Linked DNA regions of Homo sapiens: all the other regions are linked to region 2. The links are contacts of gene promoters, found by promoter capture Hi-C in human tissues and cell types (Jung and others, 2019). All regions are on one chromosome and are shown on one strand. The core of a region is centred on a gene start or on the middle of the fragment in contact, and the rest is flanking DNA. Distances in the headings are between cores, read along the strand shown. Region 1 overlaps BASP1 (brain abundant membrane attached signal protein 1). Region 2 holds the start of ZNF622 (zinc finger protein 622). Region 3 has its middle 78 kb from the start of BASP1.

Region 1 (3,967 bases), core at 1,177-3,676, 790 kb after region 2:
ATACAATTCTAGTCATTTATATTACAAATGAAATAACCAACCCTGGGAGGTTAACAGTGGCTTGTTTAATGTCAGCAGCTAGTTTAGTGGCTGTAACGAGACTGAATCCCAAGTTGAACAGAAATCGTTTAAAAATTCAAGTTTTAAAAATCAAGTACAATGAATGATATTGGCTGCTTTTCTAAGGAGAGTGATTCTCTAAGCCTATAGGAAAAAAATACTGGTGGCTGACTTGTGGCCTTAATTGCATGCTAAGGTTGAGGAAGGATCTCCAGTAATTCTTTGCTTTACTTTGTGTTTGAATATAGGATTTTATAGCTGTGGGTGGAAAAAAAAATATTTCTAGGGAAAAGGTTTCCTGATAATTTAACTGAACCCCAAACAAGTGAACTGGGTGAAACAGAATATGGCACATGGTCCTTTATCACAACCTTTCTACCTAACCTAAAGCCAGTAAGATGGAAATAGTTTGGAAAAGACACTATCTGCTGAGGTTGCTTTAAATAGAGTCTCTCCTGGGACTTAGAACACATTTTGAGGCTCATTCTCCCTTTTGATAGTTTCTTGGAGACATTTTTCTGTATATACTGGATGCAGGCATTTGTATTCCTGGATGGCATTCATCTTTTACCAGTGTGAGGAGGCTGTTTTTATCATTGTGAGATTTATTAACATTTACTTGCTCTTAGAATCTACAGATTATATAACAGATATTGCAGGCTATAACCTAGAATTTAAATATTAAAAAGAGTGATTAAAAAACAAAACAAAAAGAGTGATTCTTTTTGTTATAATTGAATCAATTCCTATTGTTTACCTGTGTTGAATACAGTAATTGGTCCCACCGATCTTTTACTTAATCTTGAAATTCAGAGTTATTCTCTATTCTACATGAATGGAGCTGGGAAATGGTTTTAGGTAAATGAAGGTAAAATGTACTGAATACCTACTGTGTGTAGTGAGCTGAACTATATCCTTTACTGCAAATATTCCATTTAATGCTAACAACCACCTCCCCTTCTATTTTCTTCTGTAGGCAAAGGTTGAGTTCACTGAGGCTGACTCCCTGCCCCAGGTCACATAGCTGAACGTGGTCTCTCATCCCCTTGCCTATGTGCTTTTTTTCACAGAGTATATTGGATTGAGATCCAAAACTTATTGGCAAGCCATCAAAGTTCCGCTTGAACTAAAAGAGGAAAACCTGTTTTCTGAAATGTGAACTTTAATTACATAAAATGGAGGCTTCTGAAAACAGTATTGTCTCACAGGGCAGGCTATAAACCTTGAACAATGGAAGCTTCATGTTGTGTAAGAAAGGAGCTTACAGAGCCAAACAGCACCGTTCCTGTGTTTCCCCTGCCAGTGACAGGAGCATCTGGGGTAGCAAGGGGACTGCCCAGGGCCTGGTGTTATCATCAGGGGTTCTTGAAATTGCTCACACTGCTCTTGCTTTTCCATACAGGCTGCTTATATCTTGCCTCCTCTGGCTAAACTGTGGTACTAACAAGACGGCAGTTGGCTGCTGGGGAAATTCTGATAGGGAGAGTAGGTCTGGGTCATTCTAATTTATTTGTGGCTCTGGTAGCAAAGAGAACTCAAAGGCAGTATATCTCTATAGCTGATGAGATTTCACTGGGGCCGACACCACCTGTTCTGTGCACACTCACTTCTCGGTTAGACCTGGCTAGGTTTTCTGCTGTGCTTGTTTTTAGCTTTGTAACCAGCAGTAATCACATTGGTCTTTGGGATTTTCATGTTTCAGGTTTTACAGATGATGCAAAAGCATTAGTTTTCAAAGTCACTGCAAATGCTATGTATATGTATTTCTCAACATGCAGCCCCTGCACTACTTGTTTTGGTGTTACCTGGTCAACTTGGTAGAAAATAGATTCTTGGGACTCATGCTGAGCCCACTAATTAATTATCTTGGGAAAGAGATAACACTCCCCCCACCTATATTTTTAACAAGCTTCTCAGATGATTCCTGTTTACATAAATTTCACTCCCAATATTAGACACGTTATACAGAAACATTGGCAAATAAGAGGTTGAAGTGACTTTGTTCTGAGTCACATCATGAGTAAGGGGCAGTTGGTATTGAATTCTAGTTTGTGTTTCATCCCCAAGTCTGGGGATGAAATGCATCGTCTCTGGAATTCCATGGCTGGGGACAAATACCCTCTGTTATGTTTTTAAATGTCACAGCCCTCTGGGATTCACACCTTGGGTGTTGCCTTGTGGCTCAGTGCCTGGTTTTTTAGGTAGCTAAAGGGCTCAAATTTGAAGAAGGCAAAAGTGTGGAGCAGAAAGTGAGCATGGACAATTTGGGGTGAAGCATTTGCTTGAGAAATCTGGGGAGATACATTTGAATTTATAAGGAGGGACCAGATGACAAATGTCATTGAAAGTCACACTATGCTGTTTGAACTCAACATGGCAGTAGAATCTGGAAATGGCACACTGCATATGTATTAGTCCATTTTCATGCTGCTGATAAAGATAAACCCGAGACTGGGCAATTTACAAAAGAAAGAGGTTTATTGGACTTATAGTTCCACATGGCTAGGGAGGCCTCACAATCATGGGGGAAGGTGAAAGGCAAGGATGAGCAAGTCATGTCTTACATGGATGGTGGCAGGCAAAAAGAGAACTTGTGCAGGGAAACTCCTGTTTTTAAAACCATCAACTCTCGTGAGACTCATTCACCACCACAAAAACAGTGCAGGAAAGACCTGCCCCCATAATTTAATCACCTCCCACGGGGTTCCTCCCAGTACACACGGGAATTGTGGGAGTTACAATTCAAGATGAGATTTGGGTGGGGACACAGCCAAACCATATCAGCATAGTATTCATCTTTGGATTGAATACATTCTTTTATTAATTTGGCAAACATTTACCAAACCCCTGTTAGTGCTGAACATGACAAAGGAAAAAGCAAATTCTTTGTTTAGTATGTCAAGGACATACATAAAGGATTTTAGATGGTTTTCACTGAAAATCATTAAAATATGAAATAGCATTAGGACTGAAAATACTACATTTGCTGTTGGTGCCAAAAAAAATTGATACATGAAAATGTCAATATGTAAGAATTTTAGGTGGTCGTGAAAAGTGTGAACCAGCCCTTTATTTTTGGAGACAGGAACTACTGGAAATAAATTGCAGTTATTTCTGGAGTAGGCAGGCTTCCCCTCTTCTCCCTAATCACCAGCCTGTCTTTGTCAGGTGGCCACATTGATCGAGCCTGTCATGGCTCCAAGCCCATCATGGTCTGTCTAGTCCATTAAGAAGCAGCAGAAATATCTCAGCTGCTCTAAGTGTTTTCCTTGTGCCTTATTTTGAGCTCTGTTTGGAGAATTCTAAATTAGTTGTGGTGATATGATCTATTAGTTTCCTGGTCTATGGAAGAGAGAAATGGTACAGAAATGATCTCTGCAGTTTGCATTTCCTGAGCGGGTTGTGGTTCACTTACTCCCTTTATTGACCAAAAGAGCAGGTGATTCATGTAAAATCATATGTTAGGCTGCAATAACTGGGGCTTTTGAAAGGACCACCCGTTAAGTGCAAATAAATAACAATGTGAACACACAGCAGACTCTAAAAAGCATATTAGACTATTGACGAGAATGAATAATGCATGTTTCCTGATAGTGTTTGCTACATGTGGCAGGATGTATTAAAAAAGAAGAAAAAACCTTCTGCATTAGTGTCTATACAGTCAACCTTTACATTCAAGGAGAAGCTTAACTATTATCTGCCACCTTTATAGAAGCATTATCAAGTCAGGGTTTTATGGTTAAATCTTGTAGAATCAATTGGGAGATTCACCTTTAAAAATTGGTCTCTACAATATGCACATAGTAACAAAAGAAAAAAAAATCTTGACAATATCATTGTAGTGATTTCTGCATTCTGGTCTTTAATTATGTGCTGAGTCCCGGTGGCAGAGAGTTTGTGATCATGG
Region 2 (3,662 bases), core at 64-2,563:
AGTGGACAGACTAAGACATGAACACCTACACCAGCACTGTTAATAGGATGTGGGATGAGGGAAGTAAGGAATAAATAGCTCATAAAGGCAAAGAGGTGAGGGTGCTGGCTCCAGCTCCAAATTTCTGGCTGAGTTGGTTTTGATCCCCTCATTCTGTTTTACTCAACTAAATTAAGTGCAAAACCATCATAACTGGAAACCCACTAGAATCGCAAATTACACGGCAGCTGGTATGACGATAGCATGTCCTCCTGTGCATATGTTAAAAGCCTCTTCATCCAAAACACAGAAGGCATCAATTCATTCTCCAAATATGCATTAAGCACTTCTTTTTCCAGACAAGGTTTTAGGCCTTGGAGAATGAATTGAGTGAACTAAACAGCCAAACCTGCTGGCCAGATAAGGCACTTCAGAAAGCGTCTAAACCACCTTCCCTCATCATTTTTACTTAAAAGCTCTCAAACACACACACACACCCATCTCGAGTATAAATCTGGAAACTTAAGGGTGGGCCAAGTTCCTCTTTACCCTCCCCGCCCAGACAGGGCCATCACCGTCTCCATCCAGGTCCTCTTCCTCCTCCTCGCTGTCCTCCTCCTGCTGCTTTGCCAACTTCTTCGCCTGCTGTTCAAACCACTGGAGCCGGGGTGGTTTCTCACTCGGGTCTCGGTCGTGGGTCCCACGGCCACCAGTACCCACGGCCACGACATTCCTGGCCTCCTTTGCAGGCGCTGGGGGCGCCTTCTTGGGAGACATGGACGGCTGGGCCTTGATGGCCTGCTGGATGGCCGCGTTCATGGCATCCTTGTCCACACTGTCCACGCCCAGTCCTTTCTCCAAGTTCTTTTCATTCATCATCTCCACTTTCCGATTCACTGCCTGCACGGCCTTCTTCTCCAGCTCAACGTGACGCCGGGACTTGAGGTGGTTCTCGTAGGCGTTGAAAGAGGCAAACTTCTTACTGCAAACGGTGCAGTAGGTGGCCGAGCCCTTGCTCTCCTCCTCCGCGACGGCCCGCTGCGCCCGCACTCGCTCCTGGAAGCCCTCGGCGGTCACTGGGGCCATGCTGGCCACCTTCCGCCGCAGGTTGTAGCGGTGCCAGTCCGTCTTATAGTGGGCCCGCTGCATGTCCGCGTCGCGGAACGCCACCCGGCAAGTTATGCAGGTGTACGTCGCCATTGCCAGGCGAGAAATAAGAACCGACCAAGCCAAACACCTGGTGATCAGCGCCGTGGCCCCACAAGACCCTCAGACCTTAACCCGCCTCAGCAGCCAGGAAGAGCCACTCGACACGCCGACTTCCTGATTGTCACTGAGGAAACTTCCGGCACACGTCGGAAGTTATTCACAACTGGACAGGAAACCCGCCTCTCAGGCTGTGGCCACGCCTCCGCCGCCGTGAGGCCCAGGAAGCCGAGGGAACGCTGTGGCTGAAAGGGACCTGGGTCCGCTCAGTCAGCCCGAGGTGGCTGTTGATTGAGGGAGGTCGCGCCCTCCCAGTTACCTTCCCTGGTGGTTGTGCCGCTCGGTGTGACGCGGTCAAGGGGACGGCTACGCGAGAATGGGGGAGTGGGGCGCCCGAGGCTGCTCCTGGGCCCTGGGAAGCCCCCGATTAATGAATGGTCGGGTCAGCGACGCGAGGGTCGGGGTTTCTCTGAGGACCGCGCGCTGCACCTGCGGAGCCGGGTGAATGGATGTCGCGAAGGCAAGGGCTGCCCTTACCCCTCGGGGCCGACCTCGGAGCCCTCGCCCGTGGTTGCAACGCTTTCCCGGGAAACCGGAGAAGCCAGGCCGGGGGCTCGGCCTTTCTGAGGCGGCCCTTCCGGCGGAGGACACCGGCGGAATTTGAGTGCACAGAGTGCGCGAGAGGAGCTCCCTGTAGACACACAGTCCAAGCCACGTAGGTAATTCTAATAGCAGCCACATTTTTAAAGAGTAAAGAGAAATCGGTGAAACTGCTTTTAATGTGTTTAATTTAGCCCATCCTGTCATTTCAGCATGTAATCAGTCTAAAAGAATTAATTAGATCTTTTACGCTCTGTCGTTGGTTCTAAGTCTTGGAAATCCAGTGTGTGTTTTAGAGTTAACAGCCCATCTCAATTTGGACTAGACCCGTGCCAGGTGCCCAGTTGGCTGTGTACCCTCATGTATATAGGACAGCAAAGTTCTGTAGAAAAGAACTTCAGGCCAGGCGCGGTGGCTCACGCCCGTAATCCCAGCACTTTGCGAGGCCGAGGCGGGCGGATCATCTGAGGTCAGGGGTTCAAGACCAGCCTGGCCAACATGGCGAAACCCAGTCTCTGCTAAAAAATACAAAAATTAGTCCCGGCGCAGTGGCGCAGACCTGTAATCCCAGCTACTTGGGAGGTTGAGGCAGGAGAATCGCTTGAACCCGGGAGGCGGAGGTTGTGGTGAGCCGAGATCGCGCCACTGCACTCCAGCCTGGGCAACAGAGCAAGATTCCATCTCAAAAGAAAAAGAAAACATGAACTTCAAATGCTTGGGGAGGTCGTAGATTTCATCCACACAGCCTGGTTGAACCAGAGTCAGCCTTGTTAGAGTCGAATGTTGCATGCTCAGAATCCAGGCTGCCAAGAGAAAACCAAAAGAAGATGGCGCTTTAAAAAACCTTCCAGTGCCTTCCCTTGACTCAATCAAATTCAAACACCTTACTTTCTATTCTCCGAGGCTCTACCCCTCCCTCTGAGGTCCTGCCACACCCCCTTCTCTACCCTGCTCACCCTACTTGAGTCGCAATGACACATTTGATGTTCTTCTAACAAGCACTTTAGTTGGTACTAAGTCAGAAAGTCAGAAATCCATTACTCTTCTGCTTGGAACATCCTTTTGCTGGCTTGCTTCCTTATTTTTTGGATCTCTGCCCAAATGCCTTTGTAAGAGAGGCTTATCCAAATCCACTTACCAAAAATAGTGCCTACCTTCCTAAGTCCTTACCAGGCATAACTTTTCTCCAGTACTGTATTAGTTATCTACTACTCTGTATTAAATTACCCCCAAATTTAGCATCAAGCTTTATTTCAGTTTCTGTATGTCAGGTATTTGAGTGACTCAGCTGGGTGGTTCTGACTAAGATCTCCTAAGAGGTTGCAGTGAACATGCTGTCCAGGGCTAAAATCATCTGAAGATCTGACTGTATTTGACTGTGGCTGGAGAGTCTCCCTTAAAGATGGTTCATTTACATAGCTGATAGCAAGAGGTTTTGGTTCCTTGACAAGTAGGCCTCTCCATAGGGCTGCTTGAGTGCAGCAGAGAGCCACATGAAATTCATAGACCTAGCATTGGAAGTCACACAGTCGTTTCCACAATGTGTTGTTACTTTTGCAGGTCAGCCCTATTTAATGTGAGAAGGGTTAACATAAGGGCATGAATACCAGGAAGTGGGAAGTGGGGGGCAGGGTGGTTTTAGGGGATCATTGGGAGATCAGCTACCACTAGCATTTGTTGTCACTGATTTCCCAGGCTTAGCACTGGAAGTCCTGCATCCCAGGAAATCCCTCAATCCTGGGCAAACCAGGATGTCTAGTCACACTGCATGTTAGTCATCTGCGTCTAGATAGAACATAAGCTCCATGACAGCAAGCACTCCTTTGTTGTATACCCTAATGCTAGAACAGTGCCAGCAGATCAACTGTTCAGTATTT
Region 3 (3,703 bases), core at 635-3,134, 830 kb after region 2:
TAGGTACTTTTAGAGTTGTTTTCTTTTTCCCAAAGAATGGTTGATAATTCCCTCTGTCTCCCTCTATTCACATAGGACTGAAATAGAAATAGGCTTAAATTAAGGCTGCACAACTTTTATTTGCTCCTAAGGGAGAACTTACAGAATGCTGGGGTATGCACGAATCTTCATCACTTTGAAAAGAGTTATATTTTCAAAGAGAATAAATTCTAATATAATCCCTGCCCTTGAAGAATAACCCAGATTCAGAGCAGAACCCACTGATTTAGATATAGAAGTTTGGATTACTGGACCTCACAAGGATGTGGCTCCATGTAAGAATGGGAAGATGGAACTGTCACTGTCCATTGCACAGACAGCCCCTGCTCAGTTCTCATCCTGTGAATCCTGCTGTATCTGCCTCTGGGAGCACTTTGTTCTCACATAAAGATTCATCTTTGCCCCCAGGATAGAGGATCATTCTTGATCTCAGAGAGTTTGAGGACCTAGGAAGCCCTAGTTCAACATTGAAGTTAATAATGGCATGGTGGGCCGGGTGCGGTGGCTCACGCCTGTAATCCCAGTACTTTGGGAGGCCGAGGTGGGTGTTTTGCTTGAGCTCAAAGTTTGAGACTGGCCTGGGCAACATGGCAAAACCCCATCTCTACAAAAAATGCACTGGGCATGGTGGTGTATGCCTGTAGTACCAGTTACTCGGGGGGCTGAGGCAGGAGAATCACTTGAACCTTGGAGGCGGAGGTTGCAGTGAGCCGAGATCTTGCCACTACACTCCAGCCTGGGCAATACAGTGAGACCCTTTCTAAAAAAAAAAAAAATTATGAGACTGTGGCCTTAGTCCTGAGGCACAGTCCACCCTTACACCCCACTTAGGGTAGGAGGATCAGAATCATATTCCAGAACATAAGCTCTCCCAAACCATGCTCCTCCAAAATGCAGGCCTCACTGAGATCTTCTCAGTCTTCTAGATTAGGAAGCTTCAACCCGTTGCCAGTGACAGAAGCCCAGCCAGCAGCCTACACAGGTTTCCCAAATTCTCTGCAGAGGCTGCCCCTGTGGAGGAATCTCTGAATTTCCCCTCTTCCTGGATCTCCTGTCCCCTTTACCTGTATAGATGATTCTGTAATTGTTATTCCATTTTTTTTTCTTTTTTTCTTTTTGAGACGGAGTCTCGCTCTGTAGCCCAGGCTGGAGTGCAACCTCTCAGCTCACTGCAACCTCTACTTCCCGGGTTCACACCATTCTCCTGCCTCAGCCTCCTGCAGAGTCTTGCTCTGTCGCCCAGGCTGGAGTGCAGTGGCATGATCTCTGCTCAGTGCAACCTCCGCCTCCTGGGTTCAAGCAATTCTCCAGCCTCAGCCTCCCGAGTAGCTGGGACTGCAGACATGCACCACCATGCCTGGCTAATTTTTTGTATTTTAGTAGAGACGGGGTTTTACCATGTTGGCCAGGATGGTCTCCACTTCCTGACCTTGTGATCCGCCCTCCTCAGCCTCCCAAACTACTGGGATTACAGGCATGAGCCACTGTACCTGGCCTGTTATTCCATCTTACACATCCTAAAATTGGGGCCATTTGTTTGGACTGGAAGAAATTTGCCAAATTCTCTGAAAAAAGGGTTTCACTGCCAGACTTGGCTCTGTCCTTGAGCTGGCAGGAGTCAGGGTGCTCTGAGATGCCCCCTCTTTAAGGTGCAGTTCTGTTTTGGAGCTCAACTCTCCCAGTCTGATCTTCCCACTGTAGTGTGTCTGACTCTGCCTGACAACATCCTGAGATGAGCCACGGGTGCGGGGGAGCAGATGTTCCTTGATGCTTCTGGTGTTCAGTGATGCTGTCACTCATTAGAAGAACTGTGTCCTAAAATTTTGAGATGAAGATGTTATTGAAAGTTTTGGGAGACTGGGCACGGTGGCTGAGCTTGTCTTCTTCACACACCATTAAACATCTCCAGAAATGATCATAGAGTACCTGTGTTTGACCATAGGCTATGTTAACTCTCTGTGAGGAAAAAAGGATTCTTTTGTGAAATACAGATATAGTCATGAAACTATCATTGGGCATTCACAGTTCATTTTACAAAAATATTTTTGGCATTTTAGACACTTTTTAGTTCCTTAAAAAAAAAGTTATGACCATTCCCATAACTCTCAGGTGGGAATCCTTCTTCTGTCAACAGTATGAAGAGGAGGTGATTAAAACATCATCTTTCATTTGATGATGCTTTACGTCTCATTATCCTGGTGCCCTTTTCTGTGGAATAATTGGGATGGGAGAAATCAATTTGAAGGCAAATTTACAATACACTGTGAACATGTGACCATCCCTACAAGTTTTCTGGTGGTGAAATTTTAGGCAGTGTAATTGTTGGATGAGAGAGATCTTTCTGGGAAGTGGACATCCTCCAGCCCCACTGCAAAGATGATTGTCTTTTTTGCCAGATGGTAAGGCTTGTCCTAAATACCTACTCCTTGGGCTGATATCACAGAGGAGATAAACTGACCTGAATATAAAATATAAAGCCTTTAAGAAAAGGCCAGAAGTGTTCTTAGGAAAATGACCTGAGATGGTTAATTTTATGTGTCAACTGGAATGGGCTAAGGGAGGCCCAGATATCTGGTAGAACATTATTTCTGGGTGTGTCTGTGGTGGTGTTTCTGGAAGAGGTTAGCATGTGAATTGGTGAACTGAGCAAAGAAGATGTCCCTCCCCAATGTGAGTGGGCACCATCCAATCCATTGAGGAGCTGGATAGAGCAAAAAGGCAGAGACGAAGGATGAGTTTGCTTCTGTTTGGGCTATACATCCATCTTCTCTTGCCTTTGGATTTGGGTCTTCTGGTTCTTAGGCATTTGGACTTGGACTGAATTATGCCACTGGCTTTCTTGGTTCTCCAACTTGCAGACAATGGATCATGGGACTTCTTGGCCAATTTCTAGAATAAATCTCTCTCTCGTTCTCTGTGCTTTTGTATCTATATCTATATGTAAATAGAGTCATGCATCACTTAATGATGGAGATACATTGTCAGAATTGCATTTTTAGGGAATTTTGTTGTTGTGTGAGTATATATATACATATATATTTATATTTTTACTTGGAAAACCGGATGTCTCAGCACCATTACTGAATATCAGTCAATTCCCCTACTTGATTTGCAATGCCAATGTCAAGTGCCAAATATCAGATTTCTATATGTGCTTTATTACAATCTGATGAGCCCACCATTGTATATGCAGTTAATTATTGTATGTGCACAGTTAACTGGAACATTGTTATGCAGTGCATGACTGTATATATATATGTCCTATCGTGTGTGTGTATATATATATACATTATGTGTGTATATATATATACATTATGTGTGTATATATATATGTATGTCCTATTGTGTGTGTGTGTGTATATATATATATATATATATATACAAACAATAGGATCTATCCATCTATTATCTATCAATCATCTATCCTATATATGTTTATATATCTTCTATTGGTTCTGTTTCTTTCATACTGACCAATATAATTCCATATGTCATATTTTAACATTTTAATTCCTTACAAAAAGCCCCATCACCAGATTAAAAAGTAATGATTTGTTTCTGTTGCTCATGGGTACCAGGTAAGCAGATGGCATAGTGGTTGATAACAGACTCAGAGGGTTCACTCACTGGGTTTGAAGTCCAGGTCTGAGTCTATCCAGAGCTA

Evidence for each region. The method cuts DNA at HindIII sites, captures the fragments that hold promoters and counts their contacts. A contact is called where the count stands out against the background at its distance.
Region 1: a contact is called between a fragment that was not itself captured here and the fragment with the promoter of ZNF622 in region 2, in 1 of the 25 tissues and cell types used here (dorsolateral prefrontal cortex).
Region 3: a contact is called between a fragment that was not itself captured here and the fragment with the promoter of ZNF622 in region 2, in 1 of the 25 tissues and cell types used here (lymphoblastoid cells).

The regions. Positions count from the first base shown.
Region 1 is chr5:17,256,557-17,260,523 of GRCh38, forward strand. All of the region lies in intron 1 of BASP1 (brain abundant membrane attached signal protein 1), which reads left to right. Among named protein-coding and RNA genes, the nearest start is that of BASP1, 41 kb to the left of the region's middle. The HindIII fragment of the contact is 4,658 bases long and covers 98-3,967 here.
Region 2 is chr5:16,464,487-16,468,148 of GRCh38, forward strand. It overlaps ZNF622 (zinc finger protein 622), which reads right to left and starts at 1,314. Exons shown (of 6, transcript NM_033414.3): 1 at 555-1,314. The coding sequence starts at 1,179. RefSeq lists enhancers at 622-691, 2,974-3,033, 3,064-3,153 and a silencer at 2,499-2,721. The HindIII fragment of the contact is 5,798 bases long and covers 1-3,435 here.
Region 3 is chr5:17,294,094-17,297,796 of GRCh38, forward strand. No RefSeq gene overlaps it. Among named protein-coding and RNA genes, the nearest start is that of BASP1, 78 kb to the left of the region's middle. The HindIII fragment of the contact is 3,402 bases long and covers 184-3,585 here.